3 separate regions of the Homo sapiens genome follow, and regions 1 and 3 are each linked to region 2. Evidence: promoter capture Hi-C in human tissues and cell types (Jung and others, 2019). All regions are on one chromosome and are shown on one strand. The core of a region is centred on a gene start or on the middle of the fragment in contact, and the rest is flanking DNA. Distances in the headings are between cores, read along the strand shown.

Region 1 (3,374 bases), core at 178-2,677, 80 kb after region 2:
CCTGGCCCCTGTAATTCATTTTGGAAAGTTCCTCTTGTTACATCTTCAAGTTCACTGATCTTTTATTTGGCACTCTTTAATCTGTTGTTAATCTCATTTCACTTAAAACTTTATATTTTCATCTCTAGACTATTTTATTTTTTTAAATATCTCCCGTTTCTGTCTTCATTATGCTTATGTTTTTCTTTACATTCTTAAGCATATGTATAATAGCTACTTAAAAGCCCTTGTTTGCTAATATCATCATCTTTGTCATTTCTAGGTCTGTTTCTATTGACTGTTTTTTTCTCCTTGTTATGGGTCACGTTTTCCAGATGCTTTGCATGTCTAGTAATTTTAATTGGATTCTAGGCATTATTAATAGTATGTTGCTGAATGTCTGTATTTTTTCCCTTAAAGAATATTTAGACTTTCTTATGTCTTATAGCTACTGTGTGTCAGCATGGTCAATTTGAGGCTTTTTTCAAAGCTTAATTAGGGCTTCTTTAGGGTAGCCTTTACTCTAGGTGTAGTTTAATCCTTCTTCTAAAGTATGACCATTTCTGGAAGCTCAATTAAGTCCCGGGATGTTCAGTGAGGTCTTTTCACTTTGGCTGGTAAGAAATGTAATGTCTCTCAGCTCTGCAAAAGCTCCAAGAATTTCTCAGTTTACAATTACCCACTGGTTCTTCACCTGTCTTTATGGATATTCAGCCTACACATGTGCACCTTAATGTTCAACCACAGCCTTAATATATGCAACTTTCTGGAGTTCTTTTTCTACATGGCTCCCTCATCTCTGGTATTCTGCCCCACATATTTCAGTTGCCTCAGACTGCCTGAATTTGATCTGTCTTCAACTCAGCGAGACCACCCTGCTCTGCTGGGACATGCCCTTCCCTGTCTCTTGTTCCAGAAAATTATCCAGGCAGAATTTGGAACTTTCTAGTAAGATTTATTAATTCTTCACCTATTTCCCTTCTCTGCGGGATCCTAGCCTTGCACTGCCTGTTGCCCACGTCTGGAAACATGTATGTCATGTATTTTCACCAATTTTCTAGTTGTTTATAATTGCAGGGTAGGTTGAATACCAGGTACTCTGTGTGATGGAAGTAGAAGTTATATATGGTTTTAATTTCTAGAAACTTTTTTTTCTGATTGTACTTTATTAGCCTCCTATTTTTTAGATACAATATCCTCATGGATCATCCTGGGAATATTAATTAGAATACTGTTCATGCTTTTCCTCTTCCTTGAATTGATTGACTTTTCATTGAGGGTAAGTTACCCTGCCATTTCAACTTGGGCACCATTTTGCCATTGTCCATTCTTTTCAAATAATGAGTTTTAACTGGCTGGTAATATGTATAATAAAATTCTGGATTAATTAGAATTGGTACTGTGAGGGTTTTCTTAGCAGCTATGTAGGCAAGTGGCTGGAGGAGACATACCATAACCATTCACTCATAGTTGATGGTGATTTCTATGGTCACGGTCCTCTGATGGTGGAATCACAGGGATATTTACCAAAAATGATCTCCTCTAATCTTCATGTATTTCTCACAGTTATTGTAATTACTGTTCCAACTTTACAGTTGAGGAAACTGAAATTCAGGGAGGTTCAGTAATTTGCTAACATCACAGAACTCGTGAGTAAAGCAACCAGGATTAGAGTCTGGACCATCTTTCTACCTATACACTATGCTGCCTCCCATTTGCTTTATAACTTCAAGAAATTTCCTATTTCTGACCTATTGGTGGAACTGTTTCATGTTTTCCGGTACAGGCACAGATATTTTCTAGTGTTAAAATTTCTTTTGTTTTTTTCATCTGGCTTTTGTGAGTATTTTGAGAGTATTCATGACCTTAGTTTGTGTTTTCTCTTAATCTTAAGACTCCAGCCCACATTCTTTCCATATTATAAACTATGTCCTTAAGTTAAGTTCCTCTTTAAGTTAAAGCCCTCAGTGGGACAACTGAGAAAAAGGAAAAGATATTTTTGAGGGACTTCATATATACTTTGTAAAATAAAATTAAATGTTCATAAATTTTACAAATACATTCCTATCAACAGTGCATCAAAATGCCAGCTACTCCATGGGGTGTAGTTTTTAATTGGTGTCTCTGGAAGCCCCAAACTTTTAAGATGTTTAATGGTGGAATTTGAGGCACAGTGACACATGGGCAGAGGAGATATTTTTGGGAGCAATTTCTGCCCTGTACCTCCCAAATCCCTCACAGACCCCCTTTCTTCTCGGGCAGCCCCTCCTGCACATGCTGGGGGCAGGGCTTGGGCTTAGGGCACCTCTGCCAGGATCCCACTGATCTATGTTCTTGCCTGACACTCAGCAGCTGTCGTGGAGGCGTGGGCTGCAGGCGCTGTTCCCCATGGGCCGTGTGCAGGCCGCAGGCCGGGGAGCCTTTCCCGCCTAATCCGAGGGGTGCTGGCAGTGGGGAGGGAGACAGCTGGGTGTAACTGATCTGCAAAGGAATGGAATGGTGCAGGCCCCCCAGCACTGGGCTGGGCCGTCTGCAGGCTGCCTGTCCCAGCTGCTGAGCCTTAACCCTTCCCTCTCTTATTTCTTTCTCCCCTCCATTGGGAAGTTGATGTCACCCAGCTTAGCCAAGTCCCGGGAAACCCCTTGAGAAATAAGCTTCCCTAGCTGGGTATCTACACCTTGAAAAGGATCCAGCTAGGTGATAGTTTCTGCTGGGGGGCTTGGGTCCTACCTGGGAACTTCCTGTCTCAGATAGAGACAGGGCTTTTGGAAGGCCTAGTGGGCGACTCAGATAGTAGAGGCTGTAAGGTCAGCACAGGGAGGCCCACCCTAGGTTGGAGCTCAGGGAAGATTCTCTGGCAGAGGCAATGGAATGGGCACTCGGTTTGGAGTCTGGCGCTGCCTCCACCATTGCTCACTTTGCAGTGAGACTCTGGGTGAGTCACTGTCATTCCCTGGGATCAGTTTCCTAATCCTGAAAAGGAGGAGTTTAAAGATATTCCTAAAGGTTTAGGAAAGAAGGTTCATAGTGGAAACAATAGCTCCATTTATTAAATGCCTACCATAGGCCAGGACTCTATCTATAAACATTCTCACCATCACTTTGCCAGACTCTCATTTCCATTTTGGTGATGAGGAAACTGAGACTTGGAGAGTGTAAATCATACAGCTGTTCAGAGATAGAACCTACCCCACAATCTAGGCCCTTTACTAGATCCCGAAGATCAGCTCCAAGGATCCGTAAATGGTGATCTGGTTCAGTGGAACAGAGGCAAGATGGCATAGCTGGATAGGGCACACAGAGGCAAAGGCTTAGCAGTGAGCCCTGAGTCTGCTGGATGGAGGGTGGGCTGGGACTGAGTCCGGCTCTTTGAGCCTGCTTTTCTCTTGCTCTGG
Region 2 (3,543 bases), core at 1-2,500:
TGCGCTCGCTCTCGTCCCCTTGGCCCATCGCGGCGCCCCCTTAGGCATGGCGCGGCCCAGCGACACCCATGGGAGCGGCCGCCAGGGGGAGTTGGCGCCGGGGAGGGGGGCGCGCGCCCTCTTCCCCCCTCCCCCCAGCCGTCGGGGGGAACAGAGGCCTGCGGCTCTGGCCACCCCAACGAGCGAGCCAAGCCTCTCCGGGCGCTTTGTCGGGTGCCGGTCCAGGGGAATGTGCGCGGGATCCCAGGGGTCTCTAGGAGCCAGATGTGGGAGGGAGCTGGTCCGGCAGCGGAGGAGGCAGAGGAGGAAAGAAGGGAGGGAGAAAGGGAGGGAGAAAGGGAGGGAGGGAGGGAGTGAGGGGGAAAGAGGGAGGGGGGCGGGCTCAGCAGCGAGCCCCGGGAGGTGGGGAAAATGGGTTGGGGGGCCGGGCTCCCGTCCCCATCTCCGCGGGAAAATGGAGAAATCGGCACAAAGCTTTTGGGGGAAAGGTCAGCCGCTCCCGGGGCCGGACTAGAGGCCAGCCCCCAGGAGGGGGAGGGGAGGAGACAGGGCCGGGAAATTCGCGCTCCTCTGTGAGGTGGTCGCCGCGGCGCGCTCTCGGCGCGGGGGAGATGGATGCCGCCTGCCTTCCTCCCTGCGTGGCCGGGCTGCAGCTCGGGACGCAGGGCGGGCTCCGGCCCCCTCCCTCTCTCCTTGCTTGGCTGCCTGCTCCCCCCGGCGGCGGGCCCGCCTGCCCGCCCGCCCTCCTCGTTCCTTCTCCCCGCCTCCTGGAGGAGATGGCGGGCCCCCTGGGCAGGGGCACCCGGGGTGTTGCTCGTGCGGCTAACGCCGAGCGCTGCTCTCCGTGAGCCCGGGCTCGAGCTGGGGTTCCGCTGGGCTGCGCTCGGACTTGGGCTCCCGCGGCGGTGCTGAAGGGACAGCTCCCGGCGGTCGCGGAGCTGCACGGGGCCAGGCGGGGGTTCTCCTGGCTGGGTTTGATTTGCGGGGCCGGCGGGCACTGGCTCCGGTGCCTCTGCGCCCCGCACTCCGCTCCTCGCTTCGGGCAGGCGGTGGGCGCTGCCGGCCGAGACGGGGGCTGCGGAGGTCGGGCGGGGAGGCGGGGGTGGCGGGTCCGGGCGCGGCGAGGTGAGGCCAGCGAGGCCGGTGAGGCGAGGCGCGGAGCGGCCGCTGCCGCCGCCGCCGCGACGCTGCTGCCGCCCGGGCTGCTGCTCCGCTTGCTGCTCGCCCGTCGCCTGCTCGTTCGCGCGGTCCGCGTCCAGCCCGCCGCTCTCCGGACACGGGCACACGGCGCGCGCAGCCGCACTCGCCCCCGGAGGAAGGCGCCGCGCTGGGTCCTAAAAAGCCCTGATTCCGCGCCCCCCTCCCAGCCCCGCACCGAGCCCGGCCTCCCTCAACCTCGGCGCTGGGGGCGCCCGCCCCGCGCGGCTCCTGCTGCTCCCGGGGGACCCGCCCACGGTCCGCCCTCGGGGAACGCCACTCCAGGGGCGGGGGCTCCGAGAGACGTCTGGGCCCGCGCCCCCGGGTCAGACTGAGGTGAGAAGGGCGTTGGCACCCTCCCCTTGCCTTCCAAACCAGGGACCATCTGATCCCTGGTGAGACAAAGCTCTCCCGGAGTTTTGTCATCAGAGACACCCTGGCCCGGACCAGTGCTGACCGCTCCAAGGAATCCTTTAATACCGACCCTTCTCGCGGAACCTGGAGGCCCCATGTTCCTTCCATGGGTAATGTCTTGCATGAACCCCAACACACACACACACACACACACACCACGTTATCCTCTACGCCCTCCACTAACAATCAATCCTGGACCCCTATTAACCCCTTTGGACTCCTTACTGACCCTGGGCCCTTTATAGCTTCAGACAGAGGGAGTCTCCCATGAGTGCCACATCCATCCAAGCTCACGGACTCTCCCACACTAACCCTGGATCCCTAGGTGGAGACCCCTTATGAAAAGGACCTTCTGCCCTCAGAGGTCAGAAGCAGCAACTGCTCGTAGTTTCCCTGAGCACTGACACCCCCACCCCGCACTTCCTAGGGCTTCAACTGCCCTGGGTGATAAGCTGGTGTTATGTCTGGGAGCTGGGTGGGAGCTGCTGCTTGCTGTGATTCCTCCATCTTCACAGTTGGTCCTGGGGGTGGGAGTTCCAGTTTGAACCTCAAAGCCTTCCTGGCCCATGCCTGCTGCTAGTGCCTTGGTTTACTCAGTAAAGCAATCACTCCTTTACTCCTTACTTGTTTCAGGATCCGTCCCAGGCACAAGGACACAAGAGATGAATCTGACCCAGCCTCTGGCCTTGAGAAGCTCCCAGCCTTCTGGGGAGGTGGCCAGGTGGGCCTAGGCAGGACTGGGGAGGTCAGGCCCGTCTCCAGGGGTGGCTGGGGTGGGAAAGAGGCTTATTGATCCCAGCTCAACCCAATCGAACACAGGATGCCTGGGCAAAGGGCGATTTAATTAAGAAGATATGAGGCTTTTATTACTGCTGGCACTTTCTAACTGTGCAGACAGCTGTCCCTCTACCCTGACCCACAGATGCCGTTGTGAGCCTGGGGACAAAGCTGTGCCACAGACATCGCTCTCCTTACTTGGCCAGGGGAATCCCAATCTAGCCACAGGAAAATCTGTGTGTGGTGGGTAAAAGGCTTGAAGGGGTGGAGAGGGGCAGGGCAAGGATTGACAGATGGGAATAGGACAAGGGGAGAGACAGAGAGGCTAAATTAAGTCAGAAATGGGCAGAGTTGGGCAGAGACAAAGAGAGGGTTGGATTTTGGGGCCTGCATGGCACCTCCTCCCTCCAGATATTGATCTGTGTGATTCCTCTAAATAGGAGCTGTTTCCCCTTCAATCTCAGAGTAATGCAGGGATGAGAGTGATTTTGAGTGTCCCTTTCACCCTGACCAGTGTGAGTCCCCATCTCCTAACCACAAGGAAGCCTGGCCTGGTGTGGCCCGGCCTGGTGTGGCCCATCCTGGCCCATATTCAGATCCCCGGGACATGGGTTCTCAGGAAATTCTGTCCCAACATTGGTAGAAGATGAAATAGAAATGGAGAATCCAGAAGGAAGAGAAAAAGGTGGACACAGAGGCAGACACATACACACACACACACACACACACACACACACACACACACACACACACACAGCTGGGAGAAATCAAGATGGGGAGAGACAAGAAAGCAGCCTCTCCAAACCTTCCTTTCTTTCTACCCAGATGTCCAGCCCCTCTTCTCACCCAAGAATCTTCTGGGATTCTACTAGCCATAGGGTTCCAGGACTTCACCTCTCTCTTCACCTGCAGAACCACACGGGATCAGAGTATGGCTCCTGATCTTCTCCATAGCTCATCTGATCTCCATAAAAGGACCATCAGCTCCTCCAGGGCTTCTTGTTTGCTTCCCTCCAGAGTGCCCAGAATACAGTAGATCCTCACTAAGGTCCAGATGATTTGAGAAAGGCTAGGAGAGAGGCTGGGATCCTAGAACCCAAGTGGCAGAGACTGTGGGAGTCTGGAACACCTAATGGAGACCAAGTCAGGAGGAGG
Region 3 (3,440 bases), core at 37-2,536, 74 kb before region 2:
GTAGGAGCAGGGCACAGTGTGGGAGAATAAATCTTCCTGGGACAGCTGCCCTTGTTTCATGGTCTGTTCCTCCCCAAATGTTTTCCTGAACTCAGGGTGACAAGGGATATTTTGGCCATATCCTTGGGGTTGGATTCTAGATTCATCTACCAGGACTGTGAATCAAGGAATCACATATCCTAGACCTGGTTGCGACTTCCATCCTCCTAGTCTCCTGGCTAAGGCTATCTGACTCCTCTCACCCCTCTGTACCCACAGCTTCACAGATGCCAAGTCCTCTTGGTCCCACCTCTTTGCTTTCTCTCCGTCCTGCCCTCTTCTGCGTCCCACTGCCACTGAGACAGCTCAGGCTTTGTTTGTCCTCCTCCTCTTAGACTTTGCCTCCACCTCCAAATGATCTCCCTTAGACCCTCCTTCCCACTCAGTCTAAGTGTTTAGAAAAGTGCCTGGCATCGTGTGAGTGCATCCTAAATGTGATCTGTCATGATGGCAAGAACAATATTGATGATTGTTATTATGCCAGATTTTGCCTCTGAGGCACAGATCTGATTCTGCTACTCTGTTGTCCAAAAGCCTTAGTGGCTTCCAATTGGCTATGAAATAAAGTCCAAAATCTTTAGTCAGGCTTTTTGAGGATTATATTTCTTGAGCCATCTGCCATATGCCCCGTACTTATCATCCCAAATTTCTTTCCTTCTGCTATGTTTTGCACCACGTCTTCTTCCACCAAGTGGAACTACCACCATTATCTTTGCAATCCCCTCCTTCCCCCAGCTAGGTCTTTGTTCCCACTGTTCTATCTACTTAGAATGCTCTTTCTTCCCTCTCCCCTAACTTTTCTTCTTCCTCCAGGAAGTCTCTTCTGATCCCTCAGATTATTTATTCCTTGCTAGCAGGTGCCATGAATGGTTCATTTTATATCCCTTATGATATCTACCAAGTAAGACAAAATAGACATTTTATGAATGACTGGAAAGACCGGGTTTAGCCCCCTATTTTCAAGGAACCTAGAGTTTGAATTAGGGAGTTGTCAGGACTTGTCCAGCCAAACCCCAATACCTATATATTCCTTTGGAGAGATCCAGAAGTTCTCTAATGGACAAGTATTCAGTTAGCTGGCTCCACATGGTCATGACCCTATAAAGTGTATACAAGCCAATTGGCTCCTCTTACAGCAAACTGGCAGGAAAGGGTAGAAATATGGGGAATACTAGCTACGAAGTTGGCCCCTGCTGGGTTGAGATAGGGATCAGTCATACAAGGTGTAGGGGCCTATATTATCCTGGAAATGTCACTATCCTGGAGGGCCCATTTGTGACCAGGGGTCTGACAGCAAGCGTCTTAAGGTAATTATCATTGGGTGACATGGCTTGGATGTTTGTCCCCTCCAAATCTCGTGTTGAAATGTGATTTCCAATGTTGGAGGTGGGGCCTGTTGGCAAGTGATTGGATCATGAGGGCAGATCCCTCTTGAGTGGTTTTGTATCATCTCCTTGGTTATAAGTGAGTTCTCTTTCTGAGTTCATGTGTGATTTGGTTGTTTAAAAGCGCATGGCACTTCCCCCTGCTCGCTCTTTTGCTCCTGCTTTCACCATGCAATGTGCCTGCTCCCCCTTTGCCTTCCACCATGATTGGAAGCTTCCTGAGGCCCTCACCAGAAACAGATGCTGGCACCACGCTTCCTGTAGAGCCTGCAGAACTGTGAGCCAATTAAACCTCTTTTCTTTATAAATTATCCAGCCTCAGGCATTTCTTTGTAGCGACACAAGCACGGACTAATACATTGCACATTCACATTCCAAGGGGCCCAAGCCAGGCAGCAACTTGGAGGACAGATAAGAAGTTCAGGCCCTTGGTAGTGGGATGTCAGGAGAGCCTAGGCAGAGTGTGAGGGTCCTGCTCAGCCAGTAAGAGTTTGACTCAGGCCTTTAGCCCCAAGAAACTCTCAGATTAGGGGACACTAATCTTGTGGCTGCACATTCTAGGGGGTCAGCAGGGCTATCAAAGGGAAATGGGCTCTCTTCCTGGGTCAGGACTGACTTAGAAATTGGCATGTTCTCAATTTGGAAACACCTTGTTCTGGTCTTCATTTCCCTTAAGTGGGCAGGACTGGGGGAGGCAATGGCTGCCATATAGCTAGGCTCAGATATGAGTCCTGCCTCCCCTCCTGGTTCACAGCCTGGCTTACCAGGCCCTTGCTTCCATTTCAAAGTCAAGTCATGATCATGCCACCCTGTAGGCCACCATTTGGAAAGGCCAATCCCAGGCTGACACTCATTGCCTGTAAATGACGTGGAATTAGGGTAATCAGTGGCTCCTAATTCCCCAACAAATGCAAGTGCTGTGCTAATTGCCAGGGTCCACGCCGGCAGATCCCTGGTTGGCGGCATCAAACAAGAGAAGTGGTAATTTGGGGGCTGGAGTTGGGGACAGCCTGCTTCGTTGGCTGAGCCAGCTAAAAACCGCATTACCCCCTGGGTGAGCCACAGTGCAGACAGCCAGGGCCTGGCTTCCTTATCAGTAAAGGGACCAGGTGAGTGGCCCAAAGTATGTTTATAGGAGCTGAACCTTGGCACCAGTGCTCAGCAGTTGCTTGTCCATTAATGGGTTGTGTTGTTGTTGCATGGGTTTTGGTGAATTTTTTTTGTGGGGGGGGAGTTCTTTGAGGAAGATTCCACAAGCAGCCTGGCATGGCACTGCCGGGGCAGCTCATCAGGGATAAAGCATTCCGAACCTTGGTCTGCTGTTACCATGGCAGCATCACATGTCCGGACATTCCAGGCAACCCTTACTGGCATCTGCTACTGTGACAGATTCAGATGGAGAAGGAACACTGCTCTTCTCCATTATAAACAGAGCAAGTTGTGGAGACAGGGGAGCCATTCACCAAGGACCAGGGTCTTAAAGAAAATGCTATTCCATCGAGTTGGGGGCTTCTTGATGAAATAGTATTTGAGTGGTTGTTAAAGCTTTTCTGTTGGGGGAGAGATGCGGCATCAGAAGAGACCTCCTGGAGGAGAGAAGTAAGGGGAGGTGGGGGCAGCATGAACAAAGTCCTGGCTCAGGGGTGGGGTGGTAAATAGAGTGTGTAGATGGGGTACACAATTGAGTTTGGTGGGAGAACAGACCTTGTTGGAGGTAGGCAGATGTTAGCCATACCTCTCTGAATCCTGCTGGTTTGAGCCCTGTCTGGCAAAAGTCATCACGCCACCCAGATTCTACCTGATGCTTTCCTCTCCTGAGGAACGGGAAGTGACGGCCTCACCTCACTTCAAGTGGGCACTTCTCCCTTTCTCTTTTGGGTCACAGTTGTTTGTGATATTTCTCGTGCCCATTAGAATAATTGAATCTCTACATTTCAGATGGGAAGATGCTTGCCTAAGGTCACCCAGCAATACAGAGGCTGTGGAACTAGGAGTTACAAATTTAGGATCTGGACA

What was found. Contacts are between HindIII fragments. The study calls those that stand out against the background at their distance.
Region 1: a contact is called between a fragment that was not itself captured here and the fragment with the promoter of KCNC1 in region 2, in 2 of the 25 tissues and cell types used here (lymphoblastoid cells and pancreas).
Region 3: a contact is called between a fragment that was not itself captured here and the fragment with the promoter of KCNC1 in region 2, in 3 of the 25 tissues and cell types used here (aorta, dorsolateral prefrontal cortex and pancreas).

The regions. Positions count from the first base shown.
Region 1 is chr11:17,652,808-17,656,181 of GRCh38, reverse strand. No RefSeq gene overlaps it. Among named protein-coding and RNA genes, the nearest start is that of LINC02729, 42 kb to the left of the region's middle. The HindIII fragment of the contact is 4,261 bases long and covers 1-3,374 here.
Region 2 is chr11:17,732,488-17,736,030 of GRCh38, reverse strand. KCNC1 (potassium voltage-gated channel subfamily C member 1) reads right to left here and starts at 1,250. Exons shown (of 4, transcript NM_001112741.2): 1 at 1-1,250. The coding sequence starts at 28. RefSeq lists a silencer at 1,311-1,410. The HindIII fragment of the contact is 8,281 bases long and covers 1-3,543 here.
Region 3 is chr11:17,806,545-17,809,984 of GRCh38, reverse strand. The region is part of intron 10 of SERGEF (secretion regulating guanine nucleotide exchange factor); the gene reads left to right. Among named protein-coding and RNA genes, the nearest start is that of KCNC1, 73 kb to the right of the region's middle. The HindIII fragment of the contact is 5,619 bases long and covers 1-3,440 here.